7 separate regions of the Homo sapiens genome follow, and all the other regions are linked to region 1. The links are contacts of gene promoters, found by promoter capture Hi-C in blood cells and fetal thymus (Javierre and others, 2016). All regions are on one chromosome and are shown on one strand. The core of a region is centred on a gene start or on the middle of the fragment in contact, and the rest is flanking DNA. Distances in the headings are between cores, read along the strand shown. Region 1 holds the start of IKZF1 (IKAROS family zinc finger 1). Region 2 overlaps ZPBP (zona pellucida binding protein). Region 3 overlaps SPMIP7 (sperm microtubule inner protein 7). Region 4 overlaps SPMIP7 (sperm microtubule inner protein 7). Region 5 overlaps DDC (dopa decarboxylase). Region 6 has its middle 66 kb from the start of SPMIP7. Region 7 overlaps FIGNL1 (fidgetin like 1).

Evidence for each region. Contacts are between HindIII fragments. The CHiCAGO score rates a contact against its expected background, and 5 or more counts as called.
Region 2: a fragment that was not itself captured here is called in contact with the fragment with the promoter of IKZF1 in region 1 in 3 of 17 cell types (naive B cells, naive CD8 T cells and total CD4 T cells); the score reaches 6.2 in naive B cells.
Region 3: a contact is called between a fragment that was not itself captured here and the fragment with the promoter of IKZF1 in region 1, in 9 of 17 cell types (naive CD4 T cells, activated CD4 T cells, total CD4 T cells and 6 more). The highest score is 11.5, in naive CD4 T cells.
Region 4: a fragment that was not itself captured here is called in contact with the fragment with the promoter of IKZF1 in region 1 in 4 of 17 cell types (naive B cells, activated CD4 T cells, fetal thymus and 1 more); the score reaches 6.9 in naive B cells.
Region 5: a fragment that was not itself captured here is called in contact with the fragment with the promoter of IKZF1 in region 1 in 1 of 17 cell types (total B cells); the score reaches 5.2 in total B cells.
Region 6: a fragment that was not itself captured here is called in contact with the fragment with the promoter of IKZF1 in region 1 in 11 of 17 cell types (non-activated CD4 T cells, activated CD4 T cells, total CD4 T cells and 8 more); the score reaches 19.3 in non-activated CD4 T cells.
Region 7: a contact is called between a fragment that was not itself captured here and the fragment with the promoter of IKZF1 in region 1, in 11 of 17 cell types (total B cells, naive B cells, fetal thymus and 8 more). The highest score is 12.4, in total B cells.

Annotation. Positions count from the first base shown.
Region 1 is chr7:50,302,969-50,307,249 of GRCh38, reverse strand. IKZF1 (IKAROS family zinc finger 1) reads right to left here and starts at 2,534. Exons shown (of 8, transcript NM_006060.6): 1 at 2,328-2,534. RefSeq lists a silencer at 2,422-3,221 and an enhancer at 4,076-4,281. The HindIII fragment of the contact is 6,071 bases long and covers 1-4,281 here.
Region 2 is chr7:50,080,108-50,084,388 of GRCh38, reverse strand. ZPBP (zona pellucida binding protein) reads left to right here. Exons shown (of 8, transcript NM_007009.3): 3 at 2,490-2,615. Among named protein-coding and RNA genes, the nearest start is that of ZPBP, 11 kb to the left of the region's middle. The HindIII fragment of the contact is 3,374 bases long and covers 862-4,235 here.
Region 3 is chr7:50,097,711-50,101,991 of GRCh38, reverse strand. All of the region lies in intron 1 of SPMIP7 (sperm microtubule inner protein 7), which reads right to left. Among named protein-coding and RNA genes, the nearest start is that of SPMIP7, 4.0 kb to the right of the region's middle. The HindIII fragment of the contact is 5,623 bases long and covers 1-4,281 here.
Region 4 is chr7:50,115,241-50,119,521 of GRCh38, reverse strand. All of the region lies in intron 2 of SPMIP7 (sperm microtubule inner protein 7), which reads right to left. Among named protein-coding and RNA genes, the nearest start is that of SPMIP7, 21 kb to the right of the region's middle. The HindIII fragment of the contact is 1,247 bases long and covers 1,260-2,506 here.
Region 5 is chr7:50,467,508-50,471,788 of GRCh38, reverse strand. It overlaps DDC (dopa decarboxylase), which reads left to right. Exons shown (of 15, transcript NM_001082971.2): 12 at 1,618-1,716. Among named protein-coding and RNA genes, the nearest start is that of FIGNL1, 19 kb to the right of the region's middle. The HindIII fragment of the contact is 2,131 bases long and covers 1,039-3,169 here.
Region 6 is chr7:50,159,477-50,163,757 of GRCh38, reverse strand. No RefSeq gene overlaps it. Among named protein-coding and RNA genes, the nearest start is that of SPMIP7, 66 kb to the right of the region's middle. The HindIII fragment of the contact is 7,687 bases long and covers 1-4,281 here.
Region 7 is chr7:50,442,305-50,446,585 of GRCh38, reverse strand. FIGNL1 (fidgetin like 1) reads left to right here. Exons shown (of 4, transcript NM_001287492.4): 4 at 1-2,453. The coding sequence ends at 1,323. Among named protein-coding and RNA genes, the nearest start is that of FIGNL1, 5.9 kb to the left of the region's middle. RefSeq lists an enhancer at 1-235. The HindIII fragment of the contact is 1,448 bases long and covers 1,009-2,456 here.

The sequences.
Region 1 (4,281 bases), core at 1,285-3,784:
GTGATATCCTTGATGAATTCTTCGTTAACCACAGTTACATTACATTAATACGTACAATTATGCAACACTCAAAAAACGTTATTTATGCCTAAAATTCACCATTATATAACATAGGGAAATCCATCTTGTTTTAGTAAAAGTTTAAAAATAAAGGGGGCCTTTAATACTCATTTCAGGTCTGTTTGATGTTAAAACTCTTCCACACTGCCCCATGCCTCTCACTCCACGCTGTGTGCATGCTGTGTGTGTGCACGCTCTGTGTGCATATGTGCATATGCACATGGAATTTATTTCATGTATCTGTTAATAAATGCATAATCTTGAAGTGTGTGTATAAGTACATTAATATATAGAGAGTTCTTTCCTATTTCAAAATTTTTGACATTTATATTGAAAATATGCTATATTAACCACGCATGAAACACACACATCCAAATCAAGAACAAAAAATGTATCCAAACCAAAGAACCACTGTTCTCAAACTCCAAGTCTCTAGTCAAACAAGGAAGACAGTGGCCTGCAGTACAACAGGGCTTTAGACCTCTTGGCTAATACATTCACTGCGATCTTAGTTTTTCGACAAAGGAAATGGCTACAAACGGCCACAGCTGATCTTCTCTTTAGGAGCCTGTGTAAAACTCTTCGAAAGGGTCAAACCTAACACATCCAGACTTTTATCTGCAGCCCTTGTGGTCTCCTGGAGACCCTGAGGGTGGGTGATTATTGCTATGATGTTTCTGCATTAGGGGGGTGTGTAGTTTTCCAAGAGGTACCACTCTAATTAGAACACTGATGAATTAAACAAGTACTGGAGAGTTTCTAAACTCCTTCCTTCAACTCTCACCGTGAAACAAAAGGGGAAGAAAACATGACCATTTAGTTCAATAAAATGTTCTGGTCACCAGCTCTGATTGACTGTGAGACTTAAGAGTCACGTTTTTTTTCATGTAAAAAATGTATGAAATATGTTCATGGTGAAATTGGAAATCAGATACATTCCATCAAGCAAGAATAGTGTAGTATTTTTAATGTGACATCATTATTTGTATGTGTACACATTATTTCTTTAACTTGTTCTGCATTTTACAAGATGCCAGCGTAAGAAGGTGAATCTTCTTGTCATGAATATTTGCCTCGTGTACATTTTAAGCCATAGCCCAAATGATCTGATTTGTCACGGAAATAATTCTGACACATTCTAATATAAATAATACTGAAATTGTTACTTTTTAAAATTCCATATAAAAGATGAGTACAATAAAACTCATTGAACAAACATCTTCAAACAAAGAAATAAACTCAAGAGGACCCAGGACATTTCTATGTGGGTCCCCCCCACCCCTCGACTCATAACCAAATTGAACCTGGCCTTAAAAGCATTTGAATGTCTATGAAAGTTTAAATATCATACGCAGTATTTTCAAATTCCATAAATTTTCCTCTTTTAACAGAAGTTGATGGGACTAGTAAGGAGACATTTCCTCAACACCATTTTGTCTGGAATTTTAAAACAAGGTATCTCAAAGCTGAAATATACTGCCTGCGGCGCAGTGGGAAATTGTGAGTGGGTAACCTAAGCAAAGCGCACCGCATTGAAATTCAGTCTGGGTGGGCTGCAGTCCCTAGAGAGAGGGAAGCTGCATTTGAAAGCTGTGCCTGGTCAGACCCTATGGAATCGCTACGGTTTTCGGTCATTAGATGCCTCCAAATTAGAAGGAAAAACAAGCCCTCACGAGGTTCCTTAGGCATCAGCAGCGATGCTTGACAAATATTTAAAATACATTTCAAATATAACCGCAAGTAACCTGATGCCTTAATATTACTAAGGGTTTTCCTGAGAAGGTTTGGTGACTTGAGCGTCAAACCTGCGGTCAGCAAAAGGACTAACTTTTCAAAGCCGGGATAATTCCTCTCTTGCAGAAATTAAGTTCAGACTCGATCTCATCATATTTATAGTATAAAAAGAAAGCTCCCGGCTCAAATATAAGGAAAACTCTTTACACACGACTTTATAAAGGCTGACTTCCGTGGGTATATGTAGGTCTACATAAATTTAAATATGGTTGGGAGCTAGAACTCCTCTCCTGGTGACAGCGGGGCTGCTCAGAAGTGTCCCATGTCGGCCTGGTCCTGCACCTGCTGGCACAGTGCAGAGCAACAGACGCTTGACAGAAGTGAACTCTCTCACTGTCCTCAGAAAAGAGAGGCGGACCTGAGCGACACCAGGGTCTACCAACCTTACCGCTTTTCTTTACTGTGTTTTTTTTTTTTTAAATTCACCAGTTACCCCAAGTTTTCCTATTGAAATTCAATTTGAAAACACTCACGTGGATTTGTGCGTCGCGCTTTGGGGCCAAGACTGATCCTCGGGTGCGAAGAGCAACCTCGGAGCCGGGGCTCCCTCTGCCCTGCCAGGCTTGCCCGCCTCGCCGCGGCCGAGCGTCCCGCCCAGGCTGGGATGCGCCGCGCGGGGACCCAGGGGGCTTGCCGCAGTCACCGCCCCGGGCGCGGGCCGCGCAGTCACTTGTTAGAGTGTCCTGCTAACTTGGCCGCGGAGCTCTTCCCAGCTTTCTTTCACAATGACTTCCTGAAGTTGCTCACTCGCATTGTTCCCCATTTCTCCGCCACACTCCCCGCCCCCAGCCGGCTCAGACCAGGCTTTCGCGCTCCCGGCCGACCGGCTGCCCCGCGCGCACAGCGCCGCCCGCGGGCCCCGTACCTGGCCCCCTCCGCGCCGGCCGCCCCCGCCGCGCCCTTGCGTTGCCACCAGCTGCCGCCCAGAGCGGCGGGTGGCCAGAGCGCGCGCCCTGCCACCCCGCAAACTTTGGGGTGACGCACGCTGGCGGTCCCTGCTCGACCTGCCCCGCAGCCGGCTCGGCCCCGCGCGCACCTCTCGGCCGCCTCCCGGATCGCTGCTCCGGTACAGGGAGCGGGGCGCGCAGAAGGGCGCAGAGCGGGACACGGAGAGGGTGCGTCGTCCCGTCCCCGCCCCGTCGCCGAGTCCCCCGGCTCGCGCGGCGCGCGTCTCAGCCGCAACTCCGGGCCAGAGGGGCCGCGCACGAAAACTTTGCAATCGCGCCGGGCTCCGGCTCAGCCCCCAAAGGCCGCCGGGGCGGCGGCGGGTGCGGGCCGTACCTGCTGGCGCCGCCGCCGGCTGCAGCCCGCTCGCCCGCGCCGGGCCCGCTCGGCGCGCCGCCGCCACCCCCGCGCGCACCGCGCCCGGGCCCTCCCCTCGCCGCCGCGCTTCCTCATTCCAGCGCAGCATCGCGCCGCGGCCCCGCACGGGATGCGGCGGCCGGCGCTGTGTCCGCGGGCCGGGCAGCCCGGCTCGGCCGCGGCGCTGCGGGACCCGCGCGTAACCCGTGGGGGCGCGGCGCGGGCGACACGTGCGGGCCGCCAGGAGGGGGAGGGGGACGCGCGCCGCCGGGCCCGCCACCCTGCACCCGGGGCCGCTGGTCGGTCGGGGCACCCTCACGCTCGCCCCGCTGGCGAGACTGGAGGGACTCGGGACATCGTAAAGCACTTTCCCCAGTGTCTGGGAGCGCCCGCTGTACGCTCAGCTTCACGTCCCTGGAACTGGGGCCCCTTGGCTCCCGGGTTCAGGCTCCGGCCCCAGGATGCGAGTGCCCACCCGAGGGGGTGGGAAAAGTTGATCCTCCGCAAGGGAGGGGAAGGTGCAATTCATTTTCCCAGACAACCAATGGAATACCTCTCGTCTCTCTTCCCTCCCACCTGCTCACGGCAGAAGTTAGGATGGCGCCTTCCATGTTGGCCTGGGTGCACACACAAGTGCGTGCGGAAGGGTGGCTGCAGGCGGAGGTGACAGCGAAGCAATCCCGCAGCCCGCTCGACGGCTCTTTGCGTCTCAGACCTCTCCCTGGCGTGTAAGACACCGTGTGTCTCCGTAAAACGGGAATGCCACATCTGACAGCGCACCCCTTCGCCCTACGGGGAGCCCCTCACTCTAATTAGCCGGGCTCCACCCGAGCAGGAGCCAGCAATGTGTTCAGCTTGAGCAGGAGAGAAAAAGTCATGAATTCCACAAATGCAGCCTGGGCTCCCGCCAGGCGCTAGGGGAGGGGACCCAGAGGAGTGAGATGCGCCTCCTGCCCTTCCAGACTTGTAGGAGCCACCAGGAAGGCACAGAATAAAAATCCCGGGCACCCCTGTGAGGAGGAGCGCCCTGTGAAGAGGGCCGAGAACGTGCTCCTGCTTGGGCGCGGTGGTTCGGGAAGGCGTGAAGACCCATAGGGAGAGCGATGAAAGACCAAGGGAGCCTCC
Region 2 (4,281 bases), core at 1,299-3,798, 220 kb after region 1:
GTATGTAATAAATACCATTTTGTATTTTTTTTTTTTTTGGTACATGTTCAGAAGTTTTCTGGGACTGTATTATCCAGGAGAAGAGGTTTTAGCATCATAGGACCTGAGCATTCTCATTCTCACTAACTTTGCTCTTCAAAAAGGCTGCACCAGTTCACACTTCCTTCAGTGGTGCTTGAGGGGGTCCCATTTTCCCACATCCTTATCAGCACAAAATTTTACCCAACTTTTTCCATTTTTGGTAAGCTGAAGATTAAGTTGCCTCTACCCATTCTTTTCTTTGTTGTTTTCAAAGGAGTTCTTTTTCATATTGTTTATATTCCAGTTATAAATGCATTATTAACTTTGTTGCAAATATCCTCTCCCTACAGTCAAATTTGTTAACTTTGCCTATGTTATACAGGATCAAACAGAAAGTGTTACCATTTAAGAAGTTGAGTTCAGTATTTTTATATTTGTGCTTTTTGCATTGAGATAATTTTCTATAACTGGTTCAGACATAAAGGTATTATTTTCTTTAAATAATTACTTGCCTTCAGTTATTCAGTGTACCTGGAATTTATTTTTATATACGGTAAGAGGTATAAATCTAAGTTTACATTTGCATGTATTTTGAGATAACTTTTAACTATAATTTATTGATAATCTATATTTTCTCCAGTGATTTTAGGTACCTTGTCTACCACATATATATCAGTTATTTATGCCAATTTGATTTTTTCCCTAGACCCATTATTTGTTCCTACACCAGGCCTCTCTTTTTTTATTTAGTGTAAATGTTAATATATCTCAGTAACTCTTATTGCTAGTCCCTCCTCTTTGCTTTTCTGTTATAGAATTCTTTCAGATATTTATGAAGCTTTAATCTTCCAAATGGATTTTAGAATCAGTATTGAAGAGCTTCTTAAATAATTTCTTCTGGGATTTTGCTTATGTGTTGATAAATAAATTTGGGAATAAATTGACATCTTTAAAGTTATGTGTATGCAGTCATGATTATGGCATTTTGGTCTAATTTTATGTCTTTTGTTAGAGCCTGAAGATGTTTCCCACAGAGGTCTTACTTGATTATAGAGTGACTTTTGTTTATTGTACTCTAAATATTATCTTCCTTCCTATAAAATGGTTTAATGCATTATTGTTGATGTAGAGGAATATTATTTGTTTTTGTATGTTGATCTTGCATTGGGAAACTCTTCTGGATTCATTTATATTTGCTGTGAAATAGGTACAGGGGTTAGTGGGGGCGAGAGGAAGGGTACAGTCATGGTATGAGGTACTGTCAAGCCAAAGCACAAAGGATATACTTATGCTGAGTCTCCAAAGATGAGGAGGAATTTATATCAATAAAATCACAAAAGAATGATGCTGTGTGCTGCTGTGGCGTGGTTAGGGCAGAGGGTGTGAAAAGAGGTATAGTGAGATATATGCAAAAGATCATGGAGAGTAGGGCCAGTAAATCATGCTGAGGAGTGAAAATTTATGGGGTAAGCATTTATTAAAGAAGTTAGGCAATCTATTAATGCAAGCATTTCATTAAAGTACTCAAAAAGAAAAAAATCACCTCAATCAATATAGAACAAACATTTCTTAAAATTCAGTGCTGATTTATGTTTATGATAAAAACAAATAACCAAGAACAGAGGGGATCTTTCTTAACCTGTGGAAGGGTATGTACCTAAAAGTACATTCAATAAACATCATGCTTTATGGTAAAACTTTAGAGGAAGTCTCTTAAAAGTCAAAGAGAATTTTGATTCTCTTTATTTTACTCGATCACAGAAATCTTTGTATACAGTGTATCAGTGAAGAGTTGGCATGCAGAGTCTAAAGGGTTGTTGCAACCTTTCCTAAAAGTTTACTTATGAGTAAACTTAAAATAATGGAATCTTTACCGGGTTCCTTTTGTATCTCCTAAAGGATACTATTTTTGCTTACTTATCAGGATTTAAATTTCAAAGCAAATGGAACAAAATGCTTTAATATTTAAAATCAATAAAAGCATAAATTTGCTAACTTTTTAATCACTTTATCATTTTTATTCAGTACATCATGCTACATCATTGTGAATAATGCATTATTCTGCTAATCTAAACAATTTTTAAGCTCTAATCATGTTTGGTGTCTTTACAAAACAGATAAAGTGTAGATATAGTATTATCTTAATACTTTGTTATTGAAATAATATTCTGAGAATAAAACAGGTTAGTGTATATGAGCTCTGAATGAAAAGTACTAACACATTATGCTAAGGTTGGGGATACATGTACACACACATACATGCATACACATATATACATACAAATACATAATATATTTTTAATGTTAATTGCATAGAATGCAATGAAATTTAGTTTTTATCAAGTAATAGGAGCAATAATTCAAAGTACTCTTATTATTGCATGTAACCCAAACTACAAAAGTGTACATTATAGAGAAAGAAAAGAAGATAAAATACTATTGGAACATTTTAAATATTGTATTTTCAGTGAAAGCGTATGTCATGCTCCATCAAAAGAGTCCACACGTGTTATGTGTAACGCAACAACTGCGAAATGCTGAACTGATAGACCCATCATTCCAATGGTATGGGCCTAAAGGAAAAGTTGTTTCAGGTAGGATTTTGTTTCAATTATTGTAATTAAATAAATGTATCTGAATTGTGTGCAACACAAAAAGAATGTTTGTATCTCATACATATTTATGTTATTTCCTCAATTCTTTTTCTTGTGATTTCCTTTTGGAGTTAGAGCTAACAATGTAGATAGTGTTCCCATTTTTACATATTTTATTTTGATACAGGGACATACTCTAAGAATGAACTGTTTGGGGGGTTCTCAAAGCATCTATAATCCCCCAAAGTTACTTTTTCTCACTTAAAAAATACTGTTTGTATGACTGATTTGATCAGTATTTCCTCTAGTCAACTTCTTGTTTTTTAATCCTGAAATACAGATTTTACTTTTTACTTTTATTCTAATTTTTTGATTGGATAAAAGCTGATTTTTAACACTGTAGTTTTAAAAAACTACAGTTAACTTAGCTGGCTTTGTTTCTTGCCTTGCAAAAAATATAGATTAATGAATTTTCATTTTGAAGATCTGTTCAGTCATTTTTGCATACCCTCAGAGAAAGTTTTCCTTTATTGCTCTATTTACCATGTTTTCTTTCCTTTCTTTTTAAAAATCTTATTGCTATTTTGAGATCGTGCCTGTGGATAGAAACTTACAGGCTTATTTTATTTTCTTGGATGAAGGAGAGCAATATATTTATACAAAGACTTGCTAAAGAAACATAGGAAATACTAATTTTTAATATGTTTTAATTCATATTTATATAGCTAAGAGATCTCAGCTGTATGTTTCTGTGGTATTTATGTTGATACAAAAATAGGTAATTTTAAAGAATTAATCTCCTCTTTGGGTCAGTCTGTGTTTTTCTTAGGACAAATTATTCATCATTCATTTAGTGAATGACTACTTGGTGGAAGCCGCTGTGCTAGGTTTTATGGGGGATAGAAAGATCAGACATAACCTCTGCCTCACTACACTAGCAAAGTAGGAACGATTGTGCAATTTGTTCATGGGATCAGCAGGGCTCAACAACAGAAATTCTAATAAGTTTTGCAGCTTATATAATCAGAGAAGTGATCCAGGCGTAAAAGCACCCAGTAGTGGAAATACAATCAAATTTTATTTTTATCACTCTCTAATAGTAGCACATAATGTAATAGAAACATGTGTTTTAAATATGTTTTACATTTTATATTGAAACTCTGCAAGTTGAAATATAGAAACATTTAAGCATTGAATTTTTTATTGTCATTTTTTGCTCGTTTGATTTGGAAATTGAAATTTGAAATTTTTTCTTCTCCGAGGTGCAACGCCAGGTCTTGCAGTTTATATTGCAAAATATAGTATGAAATTCAATTTATCCTTTAAGTAGGAGCAATATTTATTTTACTCACTCTTATAATAGAAAAGTAGGTATTGATAAATGTAGTTATTTCCAGGTAAAGATATAATCCTGTTACTACATTGGTTTTTATCTTTATAAAAACTGTTCTCAGGGAATTCTGGTATTTTAACTTTATGATTATATTATGGTTTTCAATACAGTATTTTATCATAGGTCACTCTCTACCAGTTGTAAAACTTATTAAGAACACTATACTTTTTATTTCAGAAAGGACTGGAAGAGGTCTAATGTCTTAAAGTTTGAAGAACAGAGAAGCTTTTTGGACTGTAGTTTAAACTGCACTGTACTTATCATTTTATGGAT
Region 3 (4,281 bases), core at 1,029-3,528, 210 kb after region 1:
GACGTTCCCCAGACTTCTGATCCACAAAGCTGTGATTAACGGGTTTCACTTTAAGCTGGAAAGTTTGTGTCAATTTATTAAAGCAGCAAGAGAAAACTAATACAGACACAGAGGTGAGAGGCCAAAGCAAAGGGAGGAAAGGAATGCTGAATCCCATGGTCATTTCAGTTTTAAGAACCATGAGGATGATTCTGTCTGTGACAAGCTGGACCAAGGAAACTCTCTAGAAGTCTATTGTGCCACAAGCAACAGGATGGCATTTTGTGGTATCTATCTTATTTGGAGCCATTCAAACAACTGCTTTGAAAAAGTAGGAAATTAGGAAAACAATAAAACTTGAATTCTAATATTAAGCCAGATTAGAAGAAAGGACTCTGGACGATGAATTACACCGCAGAGTCATCAAATTTAAGACTAAGTTTGAGGTTATCCTTTCCTCCACTCCGTTTCAGTATCTACTATTTGAAAAACAAACAATTCTAAAACCTAATGGCTTAAGTCAACCATTTATTCTCTCCCAGGATTCAGAAGATAGTTGGGGGTGGTTCTTTCACATGGTGTCAGTTTCAATAGCTGCAAAGGTTCAAAAAAGGCCTCACTTACATGGCTGGCAAGTTGGTGTTGACCATTAGCTGGGGGCTTAGGTGGGCACACTGGCAAGTGTCTTGTATTTGTTTCTGTGGGCATAGGTTGGTCTTTCACAGGATAGTGACTGAGATCCCAGATAAGACTCTGAAGAGGACTAATCCCAACGTGCAAGTGCTTATCAAGTCTCCATTTGCATGATGCTTACTAACATATAATTGGCCCAAGCCAGTCAAATGTCCAGGCCCAATGTCAACATGGGAAGTAAACAGAGTTTATCAGTAAGAGTGGCAGGCACACACAGGAACAGGGTGAATTGCTGAGGATCACTTTTGGACCAGCTACCATTCATCACTTCTTCATAAATTTAAAAAGGTTAAAATCATACAGTGTCTTTTCCAGTAAAAATGAAAAGAAACTAAAAATCAACAAAAGAAGGGACACTGGAAAATAAACAGATATATAGAAATTAAACATGATGCCACAAAACAAAGGATCAGATAAGAAATCATAAAGGAAATGGGAAATTATCTTGAGAAAAACGATTTTATTTTATTTTCATATTTATTTATTTATTTATTTATTTATTTATTTTTGGACGGCATCTCACTCTGTCGCCAAGGCTGGAGTGCAGTGGCACGATCTCGGCTCACTGCAAGCTCTGCCTACCAGGTTCACGCCATTCTCCTGCCTCAGCCTCCCGAGTAGCTGGGACTACTGGTGCTCACCACCACGCCTGGCTAATTTTTTGTATTTTTAGTAGAGACGGGGTTTCACTATATTAGCCTGAATGGTCTCGATCTCCTGACCTCATGATCCACCTGCCTTGGCTTCCCAAAGTGCTGGGATTACAGGCGTGAGCCACCGTGCCTGACTGAAAAATGAAAATTTAAACAACAAAATTTATGGGGAATGACCTTAGCAAGATGGCAGAGTAGGAAACTCTGAACTTCCTCTCCCCAATTAATAAACTGATTCAGCAACAATTCATGAACAAGTTACCTTTGTGAGAAATACAGAAACTGAGTGAAAGGCTCCTGCACCTTGACAGAATGCAAAACAGACGCACTGAAGCTGATATGGAGATTTGAGTTAGTCACCCTCTTGCAGATTCCCTGCCCCTGGTGCAGTACCAGACAATCAGGAAGAGATTTCCTAGCTCCCAGATTCATTCAGGTTGTTCTCCCCTCAGTTGGTTCCCATGTTTAGCACCCCAACTTTTCCAAGGGAGCTCCCCAGAGGACTGGCTTCTGTCTTGCCAGTCTGGGAGCCCTGAGGGGTCTGGTACAATCTAATGATCCAAGAGTGAACAGAGATTGCATTCTGGACTGGTGGATAGCACAGACTCTCCCATATGCTCAGCACAGAGTAAGCAGATTTTAAATAATCTTCTCTCTCAGCCCCCTAGAAAAAGTTGATTCATTCGTGTCCAGCACCCCAACTTCTCGGTAGTTGCCTAAAGAACTATGATTTATCTCACCAGTTCTGGAACTCTGATGAATCCAACATAGTTTAACCCCCTGGGGGAAGATGGAGAAGGTAGCCTGGGCTTGTAGATGCCACAGATCTAGATCTAGAGATAGTCGCCATAGATCCAAGAGTTGATCCAGGACCCCAGCTTCTCTGGGGCTGCTCCAAAAACAGCATCTGTCTTATCAGTCATGAAACTCTGATGAATCTGGCACAGTCTAGTTGCCTATGGGATAATGGAAATGGGAGTTTGGGCTAGTAGACACCATAGCTCACCCTCTCCTCAGCACAGAGCAAGTGAACAAAAATCCCATCTCTCAGATTCACTTGGGAAGGAAAACAGTTGGCAGAGGTTCCCAAATCTCTGGCCAGGCTGAAGGGTGAAGGTCTTCTTCTTTACAAGACCAGGTCATGAAGAATGAAAGAAGTGCCTGCTTTGCCTAATGTGGAAACACCTACACAGAGAGTCAAGGAAAATGAAGAATCAGGCAAAGATCCTCCAAACAAAGGAATAAGATACATTTTCAGAAACCAATCCTAATAAAATAGAGTTAAATAACATACCCCACAGAAAACCGTCACGAAAATGCTCACCAAGGTCAAGAGAATCATAAATGCAGGAAGAGATAGACAACAATACAATAATAGTAGGATATTTTAGTACCGCACTTTTAATGATGAATAGGACATCCAGACAGGAGATCGATAAGGACATAGAGGACTTGAATAACACATAGACCAAATAGACCTAATACACACAGAAGTTTTGGACATATACTACAACAGGAGTGAACCTGAAGGACATTACGGTAAGTGAAATAAGCCAATCACAAAAGACAAATAATATGTGATTTCGCTTAAGTGAGGAACCTAAAGTAGTCAAAATCATAGATAACAGAAGATATAACGGTTGTTGCCAGGAGTTCATAACCCCTGGCAGGGAGGGAAATAGGGGGTTGTTTAATGGGTAAAGAGTTTCAGTTTTGCAAGATGAAGTGAATCCCAGAGATGGATGGTGGTGATATTTGCACAGTATGAATATACTACTTAATGTTAATTAACTATAAAGATGGTTGTGGTGAATGTCTGTATCCCCCCAGATTCGTGTGTTGAAGCCTAACTCCCAATGTGATGTTATTTGGAGGTGAAGACTTCGGGAGGTAATTAGCTTTAGATGAGGCAAATAAGGTAAGACCTCCATGATGGCATTAGTGTTAAGTAGAGGAAGGGAGACTAGAGCTCTCTCTCTCTCTCTCTGAGGATGCAAGGAAAAAGATGCCTTCTATAAACTAGAAAGAAGGTCTTTACCAGCAATCAAATATACCAATTCCATGATTCTTGGCTTCCCAGCCTCTAGAACTATGAGAAACAATTATCTGTTGTTTCAGCCACCCAGCCTTTAGTATTTTGTCATGCAAAGTGACTTAATACAATGGTTTAAAAAAAGATAGAAAGACATACAAAGTGGTATCAATATTGATATCAGGAGGCCAAAGTGGAGGACAATCAAGGAAGTGACAATAGATGAGGTCTATCTCTTCTGTGATAACAAAGACTGGATCATCTACTGCAATGAGAGGCAGAGTACTATAAAGGATCTGAATGTAATTAGAATAAGTTTAGAATTGTTAATTGGTAGATGATAAAGAGAGACAACTGGATCAAGAAAGGAAGTACTAAACTCAGTAAAAGGTCTACACAGGTTTGGAATGGGGCAAGTAGAAATCAGCAATATAATATTTTATGATTTTTCTTTGATATTTGTGAAAGTCCACTGAAGAGCATACCAGTGTGTATGTAATTAATTCTGAAATGACCGTCTTTATGAGAATGTATTAGAAATAACGTGTATTTAGGTTTGTTACATCCTGAAAGTACTTATCATTTACAATTAATTGTTTCCAGGATGTACAAAGTCATTGAAAGCCTAGGACAAATTATATTGAACTCTGTCCCCAAATTGCAGGTATTACTTTTTGAAACTCTTAATAGTTAATAATAAGAGCTACTATTAATGAAATGTTTTATCAGGTTTCAGGGATTCTGCTAAGCACTTTACAAGTGTTAATTCATTTGATTCTTACAAATGTATAAAAGAAGTAAGATTATTCCTAATTTATGTATGAAGAAACTGAAAATTTTGGACTTCTTACAATCTGACATTTATTCTTTATTTTAGGTATTTTTACATAAAATGGCCCTTACTTATTATCTTACGAAGTTTCA
Region 4 (4,281 bases), core at 634-3,133, 190 kb after region 1:
AATTGTTTTGGTTTCTTACTGGAGCATAAGCCTTTGCTAAAGCCATCCACAAATTACAGTCCATGGCTTTTCCTGTAAAGAAAGGGAACGATTAGGATGGCAGAAATAGGAAAAAGAGGAAAAAGGATAAGGTTTTCAGTTTTCATGATGTCAGAAAAGTCTTGATCTATGGCGTTAGGATAGCTGTTAATGTCTAGGATGGCATCTGCTTCTGGGGAAAAGTTTTCCTGGTCAGGTTTACCTTCAATTCTCAAACAGGTATACATTTCCAGGAGCTTGGAGGGGCCCTTTTGAGCTTTAACATGTGAACCCAAGGTTTAAGCCTTTGATATTTTACTGCAGCGTGGGTGGCAAGTAGAACTTGGTATGGTCTCTTCCAATAGGGAGAGGACCATGGGTTCAATGAGGTCTCTGATGTCATTTTCAGAAGATCCAATCTCCAGGTTCTGGGTTTTGAAAGGTCTGGTTGTTCTCAGTCTGTGGGTCATGGAAGATCTCCTTCACCTGGTGAAAATACACTATGACATAATGCATTAAAGCCTGCAGTATTTAGTCATATCAGAGTTTAGGATAATGGAAGATACACGAGGTTCTATTATTAAGGGCATATGCCTTCCAGGAACTATTCCATAAGGAGTCAATCGATGTTTTCCACTGGGGGTGGATTTGATTACCATTAAAGCCGAGGTAATATTACCTCAGTAATGATTACCATTAAAGCCAGCGCAATCAAATTGATTCAGTTAACTTTGCCAATTTCAGCTGTAAAATGCCATTTGTCTTTTGACCTTTCCAGAAGACTAAGGGTAATAGGGACAATGGTGATGCCATTGGGTGCATAAGCTTATTCGACTGTTTCTAAATTGTCCAGTGAAATAGGTTCCTCTGTTGCTGGAGATTTCTCCAGGGATGCTCCATAAAGGAAATACTTTTTAAATAACTTCTTAGCTACCATCATAAGATCAGCTTTCTCAGATGGGAAAGCTTCTATCCAGCCAGATAACATGTAAATATACAGATATCCCACTGAAAATGACAATTGAATAAAGTCCGGTAGTGAAAATACACCACCTGAAGTTTTTATTGTTTTCACAGGATTATGAGTTTGACAAACCAAACATTGGTTATGAACCATTTTATCAATTTGATAACAGTTACCCCACCAGTATTTGTTCATAATTTGGATCATGCTGTCTGTTACATGATGAGTTGTAGAGTGAAGAGCTTTGTGGAGTGCAAAACTTTTAACAGTGGAAGCTTCAAGGACTCAGGAAGTACCAGAAGGAAGTATTAGGCACCCATCTGAGAGCTCTTTGAGTTCAGGTTTAACACTGAATTTACAGGCATTCGGATACCAATTTTGTTTTTCCAAATCAGGCACATTTCACAGTTTGTTAAATAGGTCAACATAGGGGAGTTGACTTGGATCAATCTTACAGAGTTTATTCAAATTGTGTATCCTAACAGTTTCAGCACTAGTTGATTTAGCATAGAAATCTGCCAGGGAATTCCTTTGATACTCAGGTTTAGTTTTACAGCTATGATCTTCAATCTTAATAATGGCAGTTCGTGATGATAAGAGGCTAGCAGAAAGGAGTGCATTTGCTTGGAGACTGTTTTTAATGGGGGGTCCCCCTCTTTGTTTCTATAACACGCCAAAATCACGGACTACTCCAAAAGCATGTAACTATCTGTATAAATATTTACTGACATGTCTTTAGCTATATGTACAAGCTCAGGAGAAACTGACTTATATTAGGTGAGAGTTCTCTTCTGTATTAACTCATTTCAGGTGATAAGATCATACCCTGCCTGGTATTTTCCTTCTGAGTTTTATAATAAGACCAAAAAACAAAAAGTATCAACTCAGGATTATCAAAGGGATTATCTCACATATGAACATGAGGAGCCACTATTTCTAACACTACACTCACAATTGTGGTCTTCACCTGCATGAGGCAGGGGTAGTAGAGTAGCAGGGTTAAGTAAGTTGCAACATTTCAGATAGAAATTAGGAGACAAGAGAAGAATTCCAGAAGGTGTTAATCTATTTGCTGACAAATACAGAGTTTGTCTGGAATTTAATATATTTTTTTTTGCAGTGTGCAAGACTTGCAAATAAAGGTCGTGTCTTAAAAGCGGCTCAGATGAAACTACCAATTTGGCTGCTGCTGCTACCGCTTTTAAACAATTAAAATATGGCTTAGCTACTGAGTCCAATCACAGGCTATAATATGTGATTGGCCTCTATTTTCCTTCATGTTTTTGGGTAAGTACTCCTAATGCCTGAATGTTATTTTCATGAATGAACAGCGTGAAAGGTTTAGCATAATTTGGAAGTCATAAAACTGAAGGCTGTTGTAAGGCTATTTTCATTTGCAGAAAAGCCTCCTCATGGCTGTCTTCTCAAGGTAAAGGCTCTGATACTGAGTTTCTAGTAAGCTAACCCAATGGTGAGGCCATTAGGGAAAATGTGGGACCCAGAATCTGTATTATCCTGCAAGCTTGAGAACGCCTCTTATTGTTTCTTTTAATTGTAGGTCAGGAAAAGCTTTGAGTAGTTTTTATTCTCTCAGGCAAGAGGAGAATTGCTTCAACACTCAGGTTACATCCTAGCGAGTGAACATTTTTTTCTTGAAAACAGAAGTTTTTCCATTAAAACATTGTGACCCTTATGAGGCCAGCAAGTTGCTATAAAAGGATATTGAATTTTTCCCCTCTACTTAAGAATAGTCTTAGTTATTTCTGATTCTTTGTTTTTATGTATCCATTTTTTTAAAGAACTTTTCAAAATCCCACAAAAATATAGTTAGAATATTGATTTAGATGGCACTGAAACTATAAATCAACTTAGGAAGCTCTAAACTTTTTAAACATTTTAAGTTTCCATTCCAGATAATAGCATATTGCCCTGTCTATTTAGGTTTTAGATTTTCTCTCAATACATTTACTAGTTTTGCCATAGGATTCTTGAATACAGTTTCATAAATTTATTACTCAACAGTGAATAGTTTTTGATACAATGGTTAAATGTTTTAAAACTTTCTGTTTCTTGCTGATATTTAGAATACAATAAATGCATTTCCAATAATGTTCATTTCTAAAAACCTTATTCAGTTTCTTTTTATCATAGTAGTTTAACTGTATAGGCTGGAGTCAGTGGCAGACTGCCTAAGCTCAGGAGTTCCAGACCAGCTTGGGCAACATGGGGAGACCCTGTCTCCACAAAAATACAAAAATTAGCTGGGCATGGTGGTGCATGCCTGTAGTCCCAGATACCTGGGGGGCTGAGGCAGGATGATGGCTTGAGCTTGGGAGGTTGAGGCTGCAGTGAGCTGTGATCACGCCACTACACTCCAGCCTGGGTGACAAAGCAGGACTCTGTCTTAAAAATAAAATAAGGTAAAATAAAATGAAAAGTAATTTAATTGCATATTTATTTGGATGTTTACATACATAATCATATTGACAAGAATATTAGGGTTGTTTAGTCACCTCCAATTTGTATACCATTTTTATGTTTGCTTAACTGGGCTGGCTAAGAACTTCAGTGCTTAGGTGAAAGGAGGAGGAGAAAAGAGAACGTGAAAGAGGACATACTTGCTTGAGATTGCTTACACAGGGGATGCTTTCAACATTTCACTATTTAATATTAAGTTTGATTTACCTTTTCACAGACATCCATTATTAATTTAAGGATAATGTCAATCCTTTTTGTCAATTTTTTTTCATATCTTGAGATGAGTAGATGACTTGTATTTTAATCAGTTAACACAATGAATCACATTTATCAATTTTCTAAAGTTAAGCAAAACTTACATACCTGAATAAACCTAACTTTATAATGATGTATTAACCATTTGTATATCACTATATTCTAAATGTGCACATATGTTTTTATTTTTTACCAGGCATCTTTTATTATTGAGTTCTAGTTTAATTTTGTTGCAATCCGAGAACATCTTTCTATAATTTCAATTTTTTGATTTCATTTGATGTGTTTGATATTCCAGAATATAATTTATCTCAGTGAATGTTCTGTGTGCCATTGGTATTTATATCAATTAGGTCAAGTTAGTTCATAATAGTTTTCATATGTTCCATATCCCCCTTTTTTTCTGTCTACCTTTCCTATAAACTACTGAGGACAGAGTTTTGAGATATCTACTAACGGTAAATCTGCCTTTCAGTCCTATAAGTTTGTGCTTCATGTATTTTGAGTTCTGTTATTAGGTGATATACATTTTAAATACATTTTATGTACATTTTATGGATTGATCC
Region 5 (4,281 bases), core at 855-3,354, 160 kb before region 1:
TTAGCTTAGTTCTTGAGCAGCCCAACAGCTTGCAAACAGTGCTGACCAGCAGACAACTGTGTGTGCAGGTTCGGCTCAGGCTCTGCTGCATGCTGGCTTGGTGACATTGGGCAAGTCACTCTCCATACCTGCTTTTGCTCCAAGAAAGTGGGGATCCGAACCCTTGTTTACAGTGCTGCTAGGAAGCTCAAAGGAGATAATGTGTCAACACACCGGGCAGGGCCTGGTGTGCAACTGGGGGGAACCACACTGAATGCCTGAGTCAGAGGTTGGGTCCCTGTTTCCCTTTTGACTTGAGAAGCTCCTGCAGAACCATGGCTCTGGGCCCTTGAGCTACTTCTCTTGTGTTCAGAAGCAGTTGCCACCTGTTCATTCCACCCACACTTTATTTTATTTATTTATTTATTTTGAGATGGAGTCTTACTCTATTGCCCAGGCTTGAGTGCAATAGCGCCATCTTGGCTCACTGCAACCTCCGCCTCCTGGGTCCTGCCTCAGCTTCCCAAGTAGATGGGATTACAGGCATGTGCCACCATACCAGGCTAATTTTTGTATTTTTAGTAGAGAGAGGGTTTCATCATGTTGGTCAGGCTGGTCTCAAACTCCCGACCTCAGGTGATCCACCTGCCTTGGCCTCCCAAAGTGCTGGGGTTACAGGCGTGAGCCACCGCATCCGGCCTTCACCCACACTTTAAAAAACACCTGCAAGCCCTCCTACTGGGGAGCAGTGCGGGACTCAGGACTCCGGCTAAGCAGTCCCACCCGGCAGATGGCCCAGCTGCGCTAGAGTGTCGCGCCTGGCTGCACTGTGTCACCCAGGCCCAGTAGGGAGCTGGCTCAGCTCTCCTCAGTGTCTCCTTTATAGCTGAAATAGAATATGACTGTTAAGATGACCACACAGTGCTGCTATGCTCACTTCCCAGCAGTCTCCTCGTCCCAGTCCTTCCTTACTCACTTCACCACATCTCCATCCCTCAGTGTGTGGGGGCCGGTCAACTGACTGGGTCTGGGAAAACCAGAGGAAGGACAGGGAAAGCTTCTGGAGCACCAGCATGGAGACACACATTGTGTCTTCTGATGAGGGGTCTTGGGGTCACTCCATGGTGATCAGTAGGACCAAGAGGGAACCAGTATTGCTCTAGAAAACAGTGCCAGAACATCTGGGGCAGAAGTGGCAGACAAGAGCAGGTTCTGGCTCCCTCCTTCCTCGTAGGCAAGGACATCAATGAAAATTACCCCCTTATCCCCACTGGATGGTGAGCTCACTGGGGGCAGGGCCGTGTCTTCCCTGTTTGCTCACCACGGAACCCTAGGGGACAGCCCAAGGTCTGGCCCTGCTGTGCATGCCGCAAACACCTGTTGAGTGAAAACAATGAACATCACTGGCTCCCAGGTCAACAGTCCCCATCTGTGTTCCTTTCTCTTGGAGATTTGCAAAGAAAGCCTCTGCCCACATCACCGAGGGCCCTGCCATCCAAGACAGGCCATGGCAATGGGAGCAGGTTGGCCACCAGGGAATCGGCTGCCTCCAAGAGAAATAGGCGAGCCGGTGAGCCGAAAAGGAAGCCAGCTTTTAATATCTTCCTCACTGATGGTCTGTTTCATGTTTCATTTCAGCATTGGCAGATACCACTGGGCAGAAGATTTCGCTCTTTGAAAATGTGGTTTGTATTTAGGATGTATGGAGTCAAAGGACTGCAGGCTTATATCCGCAAGGTGACTTTGTTTTTATTATTTATCACGGTAAAATTGCGGAGGTCTTTCGGGACTTTAGAAATAAATTCAAATTTTTTTTCTTTTTTTTTTTTTGAGACAGAGTTTCACTCTTGTCCCCCAGGCTGGAGTGCAATGGCACAATCTCAGCTCACTGCAACCTCTGCCTCCTGGGTTCAAGCGAATCTCCTGCCTTAGCCTCCTGAGTAGCTAGGATTACAGGCATGCGCCATCATGCCCAGCTAATTTTTGTATTTTAAGTAGAGATTGGGTTTCACCATGTTGGTCAGGCTGATCTTGAACTCCTGGCTTCAGGTGATCCACCCACCTCAGCCTCTCAAAGTGCTGGGATTACAGGTGTGAGCCACTGCACCTGGCCTTCAAATGTCTTAATAAGCAAATACATGGCAAGAGAACCAGACTGTAGTTTGGGTTGTTGAGATGAGGTTATTTATAAGATCTGTTAAGTCACTTTCGTTAAGATTGCAGGTTATCAGGTCCAGGAAGATGGTCACAGTAGAAACATCACATAGGTTGTGCTTTAGCCACATCTAGCCAAGAATGAAGTTCATTGAGCAATGGCAATTATGAGAACATAAGGACTGTGTTTTTCTCCCCCAAAATTGCCAGAATAAGATAGATATTCCCTAGTCCAGTGGTTCTCAGACATGCTTCCAGACCAGCAGTGCCGGCCTGCAGTGGGGCCCAGCAACCTCTGTTTTAACAAGCAAACCAGACACCTTCTCTATGCACTAAAATTTGAGAACCACTTATCAGCTCCAAGCCCCACTCCCCTGCTTTTTTTTTTTTTTTTTTTTTTAAAATAACAATTGGCTGGGTGTGGTGGCTCACGCATGTAATCCCGGCACTTTGGGAGGCCGAGGTGGGCAGATCATGAAGTCAGGAGTTCTAGACCAGCCTGGCCAACATAGTGAAACCTTGTCTCTACTAAAAAAAAAATACAAAAAATTAGCCAGGCATGGTGGCAGGCACCTGTAATCCCAGCTACTCGGGAGGCTGAGGCAGAAGAATCACTTGAACCTGGGAGGCAGAGGTTGCAATGAGCAGAGATTGTGCCACTGCACTAAAGCCTGAGTGACAAAGCAAGACTCCGTCTCACCAAAAAAAAAAAAAAAAAAAAAAATGAGGAAACTGAGTCCTGAATATGAGCCTGGATCTGCCTAGAGCCACCCGTTTAGCCAGCTGCAGAAGGCCTGCTGCTGTTCTGCTGGCTCTCTCTGATCCTGGTGTCCTTCCTAAGCTGTGGCCTCATCTTGATGGACAGAGGTCCCCAGGCTTCATGGGAACAAGCACACTTATGATATTCAGCCTTAGTGATGGTAACAGCCCTCCATTTTAAGTCCTGTTGCCACTTCACAACCAGGTGTGCAGGGGCAGGTGTCCCCAGCCACCTCCTCTGTGGCACAGCATATATAAACACATCCATCTGCAAGCTTCATAGAATGCCTAGGATGTGCCATGAACTGCCTACTCCCAAAGCTTCGGTGAGGACAGTTCCAGGAGCTGCCGAGCACTATGAGGACCTGTTTGGGGGCGAGAACTGGGAAAGGAGTATGTATATGAATTCCTGGGTAGGAAATCCCCCTCTACCCATTTGAGACGAATTCAGCTTTTTTGGGGAAAGAAAGCCAAAAAATAAGGGATTTATCTCCCCACAATGATGACGTCTTTAAGCTCAAGGACAACTAGTTATGATCATGCTGGCTCCTGTTTAAAACACACTCCACTTCTTTCTTAAAGGGGACCCAATCCTGCCTTAGGAGCAGAGTCCAGCGATGCTCAAAGCCTGTCTCCTTGGGCGGGAACCGGCTTTCGGGATCGCCCATGAGGCCGAGGTCTTTGGCGCTCTCTGGTGGCATGACGAGGAACCACTCGTATGACACGTGTTTTTGTCCCAGCCACCCCCTGCCCGCGAGGCGCCGCGTTTCCGCAGGTCCTCCCCAGCACCTGCAACATGGGGGCCCTGCTGTATCCGCGGGCTTAGAATGAGCAAGGCACGGGCCTACGCCACGGAGGGCTCCTTCTCCTAGGATCACATGCTGTCTGAATAGCTTCTGAGTTCTATAACTATTTGGAAGTGAAATAAGGTCAGTGTGATATTCAATGAGAGGAAGGCCGTTTCTGAATGTGACAGAGCGGACAGGATGCCCAGCTCTAGGTGGCAAACGCGGAGGAGGAGCAACAGCTGTGGCAGCCACAGAGCTGCAGCTCCATCAGGCTGCCTTAGAATCCTAGCTCAGCCAAGGCCTCCGGGTGCACCTTGGGCATGTCGCTCACCCTCTCCCAGCCTGTTTTCTTATCTCCAAAATGGGGATAATCATGATATCTTCTGTGTTGTGGGCTGTCCTGAGGATGCCGCAGTGGTGAGCGCTGGCACCTCAAGCACAGAGGAGCAACTCGATGGGCATTAGCCATTGTCTCTTCCAGAATGATCAAATACCTCCTCACGGTGTTTATTCTAACATTATAAAAGACAGTTTGGGTGGGATAAGAATAGTCCCATGAACAGAAGAAAATGACAATTGGTGTTCTGAGGACACTAGACCT
Region 6 (4,281 bases), core at 774-3,273, 140 kb after region 1:
CATTTTTCTGGTTCTAAATTATTAAAAGGAATGTTTTGGATAGTTTCTTATGTAAGGACCTTTGAAGAGAAAGGGCATTGACTTTTTTATAACTTCTTAAGTTTTCCAGTTTTTAAGAACACATGCCTACTGTAGTAACAGTATAAAAGGGTAATCACCTGTAATCTCAGAACTAGTAACTATTTACCTTTTCTCTACAGTCTTCTATGTATACATATATTTAAAATTTAAATAATTAAATACACGCTGTTGTAATACCTGCTTTTGCATTTAACAATATTGCATATATATCTTTTCATGATAATCAATACGAAGCTCTATTATCTTTTTAATGCATATATTTCAGTACATTAATGTACAACAATTTATCACATTTTCTCTCTCTTTTTTTTTTCTTGAAATGGAGTTTCACTCTCGTTGCCCAGGCTGGAGTACAGTGGCCCAATCTTGGCTCACTGCAACCTCCGCCTCCTGGATTCATGTGATTCTCCTGCCTCAGCCTCCTGAGTAGCTGGGATTACAGGTGCCCACCACCATTCCTGGCTAACTTTTGTATTTTTGGCAGAGATGGAGTTTCACCATGTTGGCCAGGCTGGCCTCAAACTCCTGACCTCAGGTGATCTGCCCACCTTGGCCTCCCAAAGTGCTGGGATTACAGGTGTGAGCCACCGCGCCCGGCCTATCACATTTTCTTTCGATGGGCATGTTGTATCGAACTTTGCATCTCAATAGGGAAGACACTAGGTTCAAGAGGCCGAAGAAGAGATCCAGAGACAGCAAATGAAGCATGGGATTTTATTAGGAGCATACTATACAGGGGAGAGAGTCCAATGCAGGCAGGCTGGATAATAGGACTGCCTTAATTACAGAAATGGTGGTGGTAGCCTGGACAACATAACCACATAACCCAGTGGCAGCAGGCTGGCCAGGAAAACTGCAACTGCTTGCAAACAGCATGCAGTTTATATAGCATTTTCACTTAACATCCTCCTCCTAGTGAACTCCACCTTCCAACCTTCATGAACCCAAAACTCAGGGCCTCAATCTCTTGTTCGGCCATGTTCCACAGGATGGGACAGGGGCTCAGATGTTTATCATAGATAAGAAACCAATCTCTGTGTTAGCCACTCCCAGATGCCCTAGCTCAGAACACACATCAGGTGCATCTGCCATAAGGGTCATTCTAAGAGTATGCTTAAGTTATTGCTATCAGTTGTGTTTACCCTACAGGACAGTAAGTTGTTTTCATTTTCTCTCAGTTAAATAAAATGCTGCACCTTTAATTCTTTATGCATATATATTTGCTTACTGTGTGATTATTTGCTTTGACAAAATCCTAAAAACGAAATGACCAAGTTGAAATGTAAGCCACTTGCGAAAGCTCTTAAAACATTTTGCCAAATATCCCCTAGGAAGGTATTACCCATGTAAACTACCGGTGGTATACAGACATCTATTTCTGCTCATAAGCACCAGTTTGTGGGTGAAAAGTGAAATACTACTGTCATTTCTCTAATACTACTGAGGTATAAAAATTGTATTGGCCATTCATATTTCTTATTTTTTATTAACATCCTTTGACTTGTTTTTATTAGTATAATCATTTTTAAATCATAGGCTGTTTTTACAATGAGAATATGAATCCTTTGACATATTTTCCTGGCAGTTTTATCTTAAAATTTTGGTTGTATTTTTTATACTGAAAGTAGCTTTTTATCTCCTTCAGTGTCCTTTTCGGAAATTTTTTTCACACCCTCCACCTTATAAACCAATTCTCTTGAATTTCCGAGTAATCTGTAACTTATCTATTTAAGTCTGTATTCCAGGAACAATTCATTTAGTGGATCTACATTTCTTTTTTGTTTCAAATAGTTGTCCCAATACCATCTATTGAAAAAAACCTATCCTGCACTCAGGAGTTCAAAATACTTTCCTCTGTTCAATTCTAGTTTCCATTCTGCTCTGTGTTGAGTGCCATATTTTTTCATAGTATTGTACTTTTGTAATATTTTAATATGCTGCATTCTAACATCCTTATTTGCTAGAATAAGATTATTCACATGGATTTTCTTCTTTCATTTTCTTTCTTTCTTTCTATTTATTTATTTATTTTTTTTTTGAGGCAGGGTCTCACTCTGTCACCCAGGCAAGAGTGCAATGGTGCAATCATGGCTCATTGCAGCCTCAACCTCCAGAGCTCAAGTGATCCTCCTTCATTTTTTGATTTTTTTTTTTTTTGTAGAGAAGAGGTCTCACTGTGTTGCCCAGTCTGATCTTGAACTCTGGGCTGAAGCAATCCTCCCGCTTTGGCCTCCCCAAATGCTGGGATTACAGGTGTGAGGCACTGCCTGGTTTAGCATGTATTTTTTCTCTCAGGTGAACTGTATAATTTATAACATCTTTCACCTAAATGCTATAAAAATGCCACAGTTCTCTGTATTTGTGTCATCTCTGGGGATAAAGAAAAGCTGAGAGGGTGACTTTATAGAGGAGACGGTGCCCGGAGGGTAGGGAGTGAGGGGCAAGTTGTTAGTCCGAGGAAGCACAGCTCTGCTGGCTCCTGGTGAAAGAAATCATGCAAGACCAGAATTCAGAATCTGAAGAGCAGATGTGTATCCCTGAGACTATTTTCCATGGCTTTTGTGACTTTTAGTTGTAATGTTGACCACAGAAGCCCAAATACTACAACTTACACCCACCCCACAGGTCAGGGTCAGGAACACTGGTAATTCTATGTTCTTCCTTGTTGTGACTGACCTTGGGATTCTAGGTCTGTGGTGAACAGGATTTGCATTTTTATCTTCACAAGTGATAAGTCTGAACAAGCAAATGAAGAGTCACCATCTCTCTTTTTCTGAATGAGGCCCAGGGATGCCGCAGACAAAGCCAACATCCTTCTAGAAGCAGCATTGGGGTGTTCAAGTGCTCTTACAGGTGTCTAGGTATCTGCACTGTAGAGAATGGAAAAATTATCTTAGCCTGGAAAATGCTAAGATCCAGTATTACTGAAGCCCTATCCAGGCCCAGAATGATGAAGAGGTGCCTCAGATTTTGAGCACCACCACCCCCTGGCAAAGTGGCCTGCCAGGGATGTTTACTGCAAAATGTAATCTCAGGTACCTACGTTAACCTGCTTCCTGAAGGAGGCTAATACTGCCCCATTTGTGTTTTGCTGAGAACATTCCAGAGTTGAAGATTTTTATTTGGGTCTATTTTTTTTCCAATTTACTCTTTCTAAAAATAATGAAACTACAAGATTGGGTTCAGGGGGAACCATTCCTTTTGCACGCAGGCACGTCCGCCCTCAGGATGGATGGCTGTTGCCCTTCCTCTTTCATCCTGGTAAAACACTCACCATCGAAGCATGTGTTGTTGTCCATTGAGGCAATACATGATTCCATCACAAAGATAGCTGACTTCCCCCTTTCTGTGGGAAAATCAAGAACAAACTACCCCCAAAAGAATTTACACATTTACTTGGAGTTCTGAGGTATAACTATCTTGATCTTAATTTCTTAGAAGTCAGATAAAAACCCTGAGACACTTCAGAAAAGTCTAGAAACACAGGGAGGGTTTTTTTTTTCAGTTTCTATTTGTTTTGTTTTTATAATTCATTGAAGGTTATCCAATTTGCTGAAAAAATGGAAGGGTAGGAGAGGTATAATATCTAAATTTAGAAAACCTGGATTCTAGTTATAACTCTACTAATTATTAGTTGCGTGACCTTAAATACTTCACTTCTCCTGGCCTTAGTCTATTTAATTCATAAATTGCAAGATATTTGTAAAATGCCTGCTATAAGAATTTATTACAAGGTTGCAGGATCAAATGAGCTAAGGTTTACAAAAGCACTTTGTAAACTCCAATAGGCTCTGTGTATGTGTATATGTGCATGCAAATACTATATAAATGTACTTTATGTGTATATTCCGAAGGCCAGAGGGCTCCCCCTCAGCCCACATGCACCCCTGAGAGATTCTGCGAGCTGGTGCTCTCTTTGGTCAAGGCCGGGTCAGGCCACACTCTAACCCAAAGTGGTCCTGACTTAGACTTCAGGACCCTCATGGGGACTGGGGAACACTTCTCTCTGAAGGAAACACTGGAGCAGGCCAAGAGAGGGTAGATGTTGTCCCCTTGTGTGATGTCCCCTGCTAGAAAAGAAGAACGCACTTTCTCAGTAGCTCAGGGTTCCCACTGACAGCATACGGATTTTTGACTAGACTGCCTTTGAGATTCTAAAATCTATGGTCTGCTCTCTGCTCTAGAATCCCTGCACTGAAG
Region 7 (4,281 bases), core at 483-2,982, 140 kb before region 1:
AACATAGGACTTAATGTGTTCTTATCTAACCAGTCTTGTTTTCCTGCTGCCTGTGAAAATCCACAGAGGAAGTCTTTTTATGGTTCTGGCACCATTGATGCACTTTCCAATCCAATACTGAATAAGGCTTGTAGTAAAACAGAAGATAATGGCCCAAAGGAGGATAGCAGCCTGCCTACATTTAAAACTGCAAAAGAACAATTATGGGTAGATCAGCAAAAAAAGTACCACCAACCTCAGCGTGCATCAGGGTCTTCATATGGTGGTGTAAAAAAGTCTCTAGGAGCTAGTAGATCCCGAGGGATACTTGGAAAGTTTGTTCCTCCTATACCCAAGCAAGATGGGGGAGAGCAGAATGGAGGAATGCAATGTAAGCCTTATGGGGCAGGACCTACAGAACCAGCACATCCAGTTGATGAGCGTCTGAAGAACTTGGAGCCAAAGATGATTGAACTTATTATGAATGAGATTATGGATCATGGACCTCCAGTAAATTGGGAAGATATTGCAGGAGTAGAATTTGCTAAAGCCACCATAAAGGAAATAGTTGTGTGGCCCATGTTGAGGCCAGACATCTTTACTGGTTTAAGGGGACCCCCTAAAGGAATTTTGCTCTTTGGTCCTCCTGGGACTGGTAAAACTCTAATTGGCAAGTGCATTGCTAGTCAGTCTGGGGCAACATTCTTTAGCATCTCTGCTTCATCCTTAACTTCTAAATGGGTAGGTGAGGGGGAGAAAATGGTCCGTGCATTGTTTGCTGTTGCAAGGTGTCAGCAACCAGCTGTGATATTTATTGACGAAATTGATTCCTTGTTATCTCAACGGGGAGATGGTGAGCATGAATCTTCTAGAAGGATAAAAACAGAATTTTTAGTTCAATTAGATGGAGCAACAACATCTTCTGAAGATCGTATCCTAGTGGTGGGAGCAACAAATCGGCCACAAGAAATTGATGAGGCTGCCCGGAGAAGATTGGTGAAAAGGCTTTATATTCCCCTCCCAGAAGCTTCAGCCAGGAAACAGATAGTAATTAATCTAATGTCCAAAGAGCAGTGTTGCCTCAGTGAAGAAGAAATTGAACAGATTGTACAGCAGTCTGATGCGTTTTCAGGAGCAGACATGACACAGCTTTGCAGGGAGGCTTCTCTTGGTCCTATTCGCAGTTTACAAACTGCTGACATTGCTACCATAACACCGGATCAAGTTCGACCCATAGCTTACATTGATTTTGAAAATGCTTTTAGAACTGTGCGACCTAGTGTTTCTCCAAAAGATTTAGAGCTTTATGAAAACTGGAACAAAACTTTTGGTTGTGGAAAGTAAGTGGGATACTTGGAATCAAGGCATCTCTGTAGTACAGTCTTCTTTATTTTTTAGCATAGAAAGTTGGGGATGTGTTAATTGTATTTTTAAGAATATATTCTAAGTTCTGTACTTCAAATAATAGCACAGATTTTACATCTGATTGACATAGTGTATGTTAATGTAAGTTTTGCTTTCCAGTGATTACCTGATACGTAAGCCTATTTGAACAAAGTGAGAATGAACTTTTGTTTCTAAGAAGTCTTTATCTTGAAGCTATATAACATGAAAAGTGAGCTCAAATTTTTTTTAGTTGAAGATTACATATAAAGTTGTGTCTGATTAATATTCATCTTTTATTGAAGAAAGTGCCTTCTGATGGCCACATAATTCTTAATGTCAGCTAGTATAATGGTTTACATTTGGACAAAGTATTGCTTAGTGTTATTTAAGTAGATTTAAGATCTCAAAGCTAAAGTGCCAATTTTTACTTTCTTCAGCCAATTTGTTACCTCTTTTATGGTTTTTAATTTTTATCAGGACTAACATTTTCAGAAATAGCAAGGTGTGATCTAGTATTAGATTCACAGAACTGAAAGGTTAATTAAGAATGTTGGTTATTTTCACGGGAGCGTGTGATATTTAACATTAATATTTTATTTGACACTACAGCCTGTAATACTGCTCTCTTTCAAAAACAAGTTTTCAGATTTTTATAACAGACCCATTTTGTTTTATGAAACATGTTCATTACAGAAACATGAGAAAATAGAGATAAGTAAAAAGAATAAAAGTCACTATTATCCTACCACTTTGCGGGACACACTATTAATATTTAAGCATAGATTCTTCCAGATGTTTTGTTTTATACAGCAGTAGGATTGTGTAATGTATTCTCTCTTGTAGCCTATTCTTCAAAGCGTATCTTCACTTTCCATGTTAACATAAATGTCCTTTTATGATTGTCTAGGATTCCATGGATGGATGGAATATAATTGAGTCATCTGGTAGAGCGCATATAGGACAGGACGCTAGGTTGTTTATCTTTTGTTTATTGTAAAGGAACTATGTGGGATGCATTTGGTGATCTTTTTAAAAAATGTATAAATTTCTTGAGTAATTCCTGGATTAAAGAATATGCACTTTTTAAAGCTTTTGGCTTGCATTCTAAATTGTCCTCTTGAAAAAGTAGTTCCTGTGTAAAACTCCATCTGCACTGAATCAGAGCTATGGCAGCATTGGGCAGTAGGCAGTTTTGGTATTTGTTGGCATTCTTTTTGCATTTATTCAAAAAACTGAAGGTAGTGAACGTAGAGCAATGAACAACACAAATATCCTTGGTCTCGTGGAGGTTATATTTAAGTTCTAATGTTTTCTCTTGTGAACAGTGCAATTTGAAATGACAAATTGAAACACTTTTAGTTGTTGAATTTAGACAGTTTGTGTATATAGTTTAAATTTTTATTCTTGGTTTGCCTTCTGTTTTTATGTTAAAAGATTGTTGCAATTTTTAGTTTTTCCCTTTGTAATATGTGATTGTCTTTCATTAGAATTCATTTTTTGTTTTGTTTTGGTTATTTTGAAACAGTCTCGCTGTGTTGCCTAGGCTGGAGTGCAGTGGTGTGATCTCAGCTCACTGCAACCTCTGCCTCCTGGGTTCCAGTGATTCTTGTGCCTCAGTCTCCCTTGTAGCTGAGACCACAGGTTTGCACCACCACACCCAGCTAATTTTTGTATTTTTAATCGAGATGGGGTTTCACCATGTTGCCCAGGCTGCTCTCGAACTCCTGGCCTCAAACGATCCACCCACCTCAGCCTCCTGAAGTGTTGGGATTACAGGCATGAGCCACCACGCCTGGCCTTTTTTATTAGAATTTGGACGTTAAACTTCTTGTCTTCAGTTCTTAGTTATATCTTTTAACATCCTAAAACATTCCACAATATTCATTACTGTCTTTATCCCTTTCTATTTCTATATAAACAGCACTATAAACTTGGTTTCTTTGGTATTGATGTCAAGGAATTCTCTAGTTTTTCTTTCTTGGTGTTTAATTGCAGATCACTCCCACCTTCTTGGGTCTAGCTATTTAGATTTATCAGCATTTGCCCTCTAGCTGTTAATGTTTTATTTAGCTCTGAAATTTGGTCTTAATATTTATTATCAGTTTTTTTCAGTTACAGCTTCTGCCAGCCCTGACTTTAAGCTCCCTTGATCACCAGCCACAGGGCCACTTCTTTCTATGGAGTTTAGAAATTGTGACAAGGAGAGAAAGTCTAGTTGGTTTAGCTCATCTTGGATTAAGCAGAGCCCATGTCTCTCTTGTTAGCTCAAGAAATGGTCTTTCCTGAATTAAGGTCTACTCTGTTAAATAAGAATCTAAACCTGAAAGGAATAGTCAGGATATTTTAAAGCTGGAAAGAAAATTTGAGCTGGGGAGTCAACTGTTGTTTCTACGTTATACCACAGAGAAGCTTTCTTTGTCTCAACACTTTGTGATTTTGAGTGTTTCTGAAGCAGTTGGATAGGAAGCTTACTGAAACTTTAAGATTGCTTACTCTCGCCACATGCGATTGTCTTCATCGAATATAATAATCTTGGATTAAATTATCTCAAGTGTGGCACTGCCCTGTCTTTAGCTATTGTTTCAGAAACATGAATGCTAGCCTGATATTTAATGTCTTCAAAAATTACATTCCCTTAGTAGAAATACACATTTTACTAAACATGTCACTTGGTTATGGTATTAATGCTTAACAATTTTGATATGAATATGGTAATTCTAATTTATGATTTCAGGCCTTCTTAAATCTTTATTATACATCTAATAATAATATATGATCCTTTTGATATGTATTCATTCTGTGGTAAATTTCTAATTTTCTGAAATTTTAACTCATTTTCTCAATTCTAAAATATCTCTCAGGTGTGCCTTTCATATTGACAAGCTGGTCTTAATGGAATCATAGTCTAAAGATCAT